2 separate regions of the Homo sapiens genome follow, and region 2 is linked to region 1. Evidence: promoter capture Hi-C in 16 types of primary human blood cells and fetal thymus (Javierre and others, 2016). All regions are on one chromosome and are shown on one strand. Each heading gives the region's core, a stretch centred on a gene start or on the middle of the fragment in contact. The rest is flanking DNA. Distances are from core to core; before and after follow the strand shown. Region 1 holds the start of MATN4 (matrilin 4). Region 2 holds the start of WFDC13 (WAP four-disulfide core domain 13).

Evidence for each region. Contacts are between HindIII fragments. The CHiCAGO score rates a contact against its expected background, and 5 or more counts as called.
Region 2: a contact is called between the fragment with the promoter of WFDC13 here and the fragment with the promoter of MATN4 in region 1, in 2 of 17 cell types (M1 macrophages and M2 macrophages). The highest score is 6.0, in M1 macrophages.

Annotation. Positions count from the first base shown.
Region 1 is chr20:45,306,981-45,309,680 of GRCh38, forward strand. It overlaps MATN4 (matrilin 4), which reads right to left and starts at 1,319. Exons shown (of 10, transcript NM_001393530.1): 1 at 1,195-1,319. It overlaps RBPJL (recombination signal binding protein for immunoglobulin kappa J region like), which reads left to right. Exons shown (of 12, transcript NM_014276.4): 2 at 1,163-1,271; 3 at 2,587-2,700. The HindIII fragment of the contact is 1,069 bases long and covers 502-1,570 here.
Region 2 is chr20:45,700,649-45,703,348 of GRCh38, forward strand. WFDC13 (WAP four-disulfide core domain 13) reads left to right here and starts at 1,390. Exons shown (of 4, transcript NM_172005.2): 1 at 1,390-1,563. The coding sequence starts at 1,476. All of the region lies in intron 2 of WFDC10B (WAP four-disulfide core domain 10B), which reads right to left. The HindIII fragment of the contact is 1,162 bases long and covers 518-1,679 here.

The DNA of each region.
Region 1 (2,700 bases), core at 69-2,568:
CGTGAGAACTACGAAGGACCACCCCCCCACCCCCTCCCCACTATACAAATAGGAAAACTAAGCCCCAAGGAGGCAGCCCGCCGAACTGCAAAAGCAGGATTAGAACCTAGGGCTCCTGGTTCCCCTTCTCTCTCTTGAGGCCCCCTGGCGCCTAGAATTCACTAAACCTCATTTCCTTCCAGCTCCTACCCCACCGCCGCGCCCCATGCTGAAGCTGTGTTAGCCATTTTTCTGTTGCTGTTTCTTGGCAGAGAGGGCCAGCTGCCCCTAACCCAACAGCAGCTCCGCCCCCGCCCCCCAATTCCGTGAATGCGCCTATTCTGAGCGAGGCCAGTGCCTGCTTCTCACTCCAGGCGACCTTCTCATCCCGGATTCTTCTCCCTTTTCCCCTCCCAGGCCTGGTAGAAGAACATAAATCCTCTGGCAGGGCCCGTCGTGGGAGGGTGACCAAGCAAGATGTGGCAGCGCTGGTGGAAGTGGGAGGGCGGGGAACCCTTGTCAAGCTTGGGCCACAGGCAAAGCCAACATCCCTGGACAGCATGAGGGCTAAGGCACAAGGGGCCTCTGCCACCTCCCATACTTTCCTACCCGGAGATGCCTCTGGGCCCCTAAATCTTGGTTAAGGTTCCCCTCATCCCATTCTTGGTCTGAGCCAACTTCTCACCTGGCACCCTGCCTCCACCCCAGGAATCCTAGAAAGTCAAAATAGCAAATGCCTCAAAGTTCATCACCTTTCCAAACCCCTCATTCTACAAAGAAAGGAACTAGGTCCAGAGAGGGTAGTGTCTTGCTGAAGGGTACATGGCGATGTCGTGGCAGGACTGATACTAGAACCTGGGATTCCTCTGAGGAGTTAATCCTTGCATTAAAAAAAGAAAGATTCAGAGATGCCCTGAGGTGAGGTTGAGGGAGTGGAGCAGCAAGGGAGGAGAGGCCTGTAAATAAATTCTCAAAAGTCCCTTAGGGACATTTCAGGGGGTTCCTGGAGGGATGAGAGTAGAAAAGGGATGATCCTATTTTGATGGCTTTGAGGGTGGGGGCTCGATTTGGAAAGGACCCTGCAGAAGTGGGGAAGGGCACTGCAAATCAGATAGGGCACCCTAGGCAGCGTCTCTGCTAAAATACACTCGCCTGACCTGGCTTGATGCCTACTCCCCTGCAGACCCCTCAGTGCCTCCCAATCCTTTGACTCACCTGAGCCTGCAGGACAGATCAGAGATGCAGCTGCAGAGCGAAGCCGACAGGCGGAGCCTCCCGGGCACTTGGACCAGGTAACGGCGGCGTGGCAGCGTGCCCTAGGTGGGGACTGCCAGGCAGCTGGAGCACACAGAGGCAACGGCCGCATTTAACCCAGGGCTGGCGGGTGGGGAGGGGAAGTGCAGGCTGCAACCCCTCCCACTGGCAGGGAGGGATCCCCCCTTCCTCCTGAGGGGGGGCAAACCCAGCACCCCCTGCTCCTACCACGCTTGGAGCTGCAGACAGGGCTAGCTGCGGGCCAGGCTGGAATTCAGCTACAGCGGGAGACTGGGGAGACCGGGGCAGCCACACTCCACAGCCGGAATTCATTGGAAGCTTAGAAGGCACTTCCCTGAGGAGAGCCCCAAGGGGTGGAGCGGTCCTGGCTGTGGCTGCTGCCTGTCTGGCCTGGCTTTCGAGGGTGCGGTCTTGCGCTGTCCCCTCCAGGAGTGAGGAGAGACTCTGGTCCTGCCAAGAGGAATAAGGGCTCAGAAGGACAGCCTCAGTTTTCATGGCTCTCCTTGGGCCTCAACCTGCTAACCCCCCAAATCTCTCCCACCTCCCCTCCTCTACTTGCTCCCTGCAATTGCTCGGGCCTACCCACCCACACCGCTCAAGACCCCCAGGTTAAGAAGCCACCAGACCTCTAGGCTCTAACCTGGCTCACTCTGCAGGACCAATGTCATCTGCCTTGACTCCTGTAATCAAGGGTAGGAAAGCCCACACAGCAACAGGCCACTTCTCATGGGAGAAAGGGAAGAATATGGCTTTGGCCCCAGAAAGGCTCAGATTCCCCCAGGCCATCCCCCATCCTGAGGACAAGGTTTTGGGCCCTTTTCTGTTTGCAGGCAGGAGGCTAGAGAGCGCTCCAGGCCAGGAGCCCAGGAAAGGCTCTCCCTTCCCCTCCCTCCTCACCCCCCACCCTGCCTTCCCCAGGGTGGGGAAGCTTCATCTCTACCAATTCCATCAGCCCTAAAATACTCTTCTCCATCCCAAGGCCAGTATAAGTGCAGCCTTTGTGTCACAGCCACGTGTCCCTATGGCCCTGGGCTCCAATGGGCATGATGCCAGACCCACAGAGTGGAACCTGGGTGGTCCCATGGGTTCCATGCAGGCTTCGTTGAGCACCTTGCAGCCTAAATATTTAGCCTACAATTTGCAGCCAAGTCTCCTCCTTACCTAATGCTTCCTCTTCCTGACCCCACAGGGGCAGGATATAGAGCAGCCCCACCCTCCCACTCACTCTAACCCCCTGCTCACTTCATTTTACTCAACCTGAGTGCTTGGACCCTGTGCCACCTTGACCCTTCTCCCTCCTGTGGCTGGTCGACCTGCCTGCCCTACTCCCAGGTCATCCCCAGAGCACACCACCATTCTGAGGGGAGGCGTGCGCAGGTGCCTGCAGCAACAGTGTGAACAGACTGTGCGGATCCTGCATGCCAAGGTGGCCCAGAAATCATACGG
Region 2 (2,700 bases), core at 140-2,639, 390 kb after region 1:
TCTTGTTAGGAATGAAAGAAAAATTTCTAAACCTGATAGAGGGTACTTATGAGAAACCTAAAGTGGAGACAATTCTAAAAGGGGAAACAAGAAGTTTTCATTTTAAATCAGGTATCAGACAAAAATACACACTATCACCACTTACATATGATGTACTCAAGGGCCTAGCGAGCACAGTGAGGCATTAAAAATGGCATAAAGTTTGAAGAAGAAAACTATAACTGCTTATTTGCCTATGATAAACACTGAAGAGAACACACAAAGAAACCATAATAAACAATGGGAGAATTTAGCAAGCTAACTAGTTACAAATTTGTGGAAAGAAGAAAAGATCCAAGCTTTAAAGAGAGGAAAGCAAGTTTGAAATAGTATTTGTAGAAAGTGGGAACACTGGCTTACTGAAGAAACTTAGTAAGATTGCCAGACCCTTTTTGGTTTGGTGATGGTGCATCTATTGTGCTGTTTAGTAGCCCAGTTGAGTTATTTTCCCCCAGCAACAATTATCTGCCTAGGTTCAAGCTTCAATGAAATTGATGGTTGGATTCATTCAGGGTTGCAGTTTTTGTAGGTAGATTCAAGCAAGGAGATTTAAATGACAGGTTCTGAGTCCTACATTGATAGAAAGAAAAGTAAACGCCTATAGGGGAGGACTACGAAATAGGGAAGTGAAGAGTCAATGTTTATTGGTTTCAGTGAGGTCAAATAATTGTCATGGTGGAGATTTTTGAGCAAACTGGAAAGTTAACTTCTCTACATTAGCAGTAAACAAAAGGAATTAGTTGAAAAGTTATGATAACATTTACAATTTCCTTTTAAAAACTTCAAGCCTCAGACCAGGCGCGGTGGCTCACACCTGTAATCCTAGCACTTTGAGAGGCTGAGGAGGGCAGATCACCTGAGGTCAGGAGTTCAAGACTAGCCTGGATAACACAGTGAAACCCCATCTCTACTAAAAATACAAAAATTAGCTGGACATGGTGGTACACGCCTGTAATCCCAGCAACTCAGGAGTCTGAGACACAAGAATTGCTTGAACCTGGGAGGAAGAGGCTGCAGTGAGCAGAGATCGCACCACTGCACTCCAGCCTGGGTGACAGAGCCAGACTCCATCATCTCAAAAAAAAAAAAAAAAAATTCAATCCTCTGTGAATAAATATAACATGTACAATTTCCACAGGGGAAAATTATAAAAAAATGTTAAGGGACATGAATAAGATCTAGATACAGATGAAAGAGATAGCAAGGTCAAGATTAGGGGAATAAAGGAGGATATGAAAACACTACGTGACCCTGGAGTGGGTGTGATTGGGAGGTGCTTGGATTCCTGCCCTGCCGGTTTTGATTGGAGTACACGGTGAAAGGCTAGTCACACTGGGCCTCCACTTTGCCCTCTTTCCTTCTCTTCTCCTCACAGCAGTGCCTGGTCAAACCCAGCAACCCTTGGCCAGAACTTACTCACCCATCCCACTGACACCATGAAGCCTGTGCTGCCTCTCCAGTTCCTGGTGGTGTTCTGCCTAGCACTGCAGCTGGTGCCTGGGAGTCCCAAGCAGCGTGTTCTGAGTAGGTGCTGGATCTGGGCCCAAGGAGGGAAGTAACATGTGTGGATAGGAGAGGATCTGAGGGCTGACAGTCTGTCACACCTCTTGGAAAAATACCGTGTCATGTTCAAGGGCCCAAGCTTTATTGTTGGCAAGATCTAGGTTTGAATCCCTGCTCTGTTGCTGAGTGACCTTGGGCATAGTATCTGGGCCTCAGGTTTTTATCCTTATAATGAATACAGGAGGAGAACAGATAATGCATGCAGACATAGCTCACTCTTACTAAACCATGGTAAATGCTCAGTAATATTAAATGCTGTAAATGTGATCAGCCTCATCATCCAGCTTAGTCTTGCTGCCCGTGGCTCCTTCATGGATGCTTGGACTCACTTTTCAAGCAATAAAACAGAGAGACAACGAAGTTGGTAGAACTCAAGCTAGAATCTACATAACCTTGGCCTTGGAGGATGTTTTGGGAAGGAGGGAAAGGAAGTCTTGCCTTTTATTCCACATTTTCAAACTCCAGAGGTACTGTACAATTACCGGTAATTAGCATCAATGGGACAGTGTAGAGTCCATCTCAGCAGCCACCACTGCCCAGCTCAACTCAAAAGAGCTCTGGCTCTAGTAATGTTGACCTTAACCAATACCAAGTGGGAAAAGAACTGTTATTCATCATACATCCACTCTTCTATGGGGAAAACATCTTCAGAATACTGGCGGCTCAGAAGAGGGATAAGTGTGGTAGCTCATGTGTCTGGGGAGGCTAGGTCCTGCTTAAGAAGTTTCAGAAAAGGCATGCAGGTTTGTAGGACTAAGAGGGACTAAGCAAGCTACAAGAAAATAGGAGTGCCCAGGGTAGAGTTAATTGGAGAATCAGAATTTGAGGAAAGGCACAAAGAGGCTTTCTAAAAGACTGGTAAATGCTGTGAGTGAAGTTGGGACCAGATACCCAGAAGAGGGGTCAAGACTTGAAAAGGGTGACCTCTCTGAGATCTCTGGATCATGGTGTCTATCTCTAAACTGCTCTGTTGAGCCCCAAGCTCTTCAAAGTGTGGATTAGTTCCAATTTCTTGCAGTGCCCCAGTGAGCTATAGAATAGCTGAGAGGCCAGGGGTGAGTACTAGTTATTGGTCTCTGTTAAATTGTCAACAGCTTG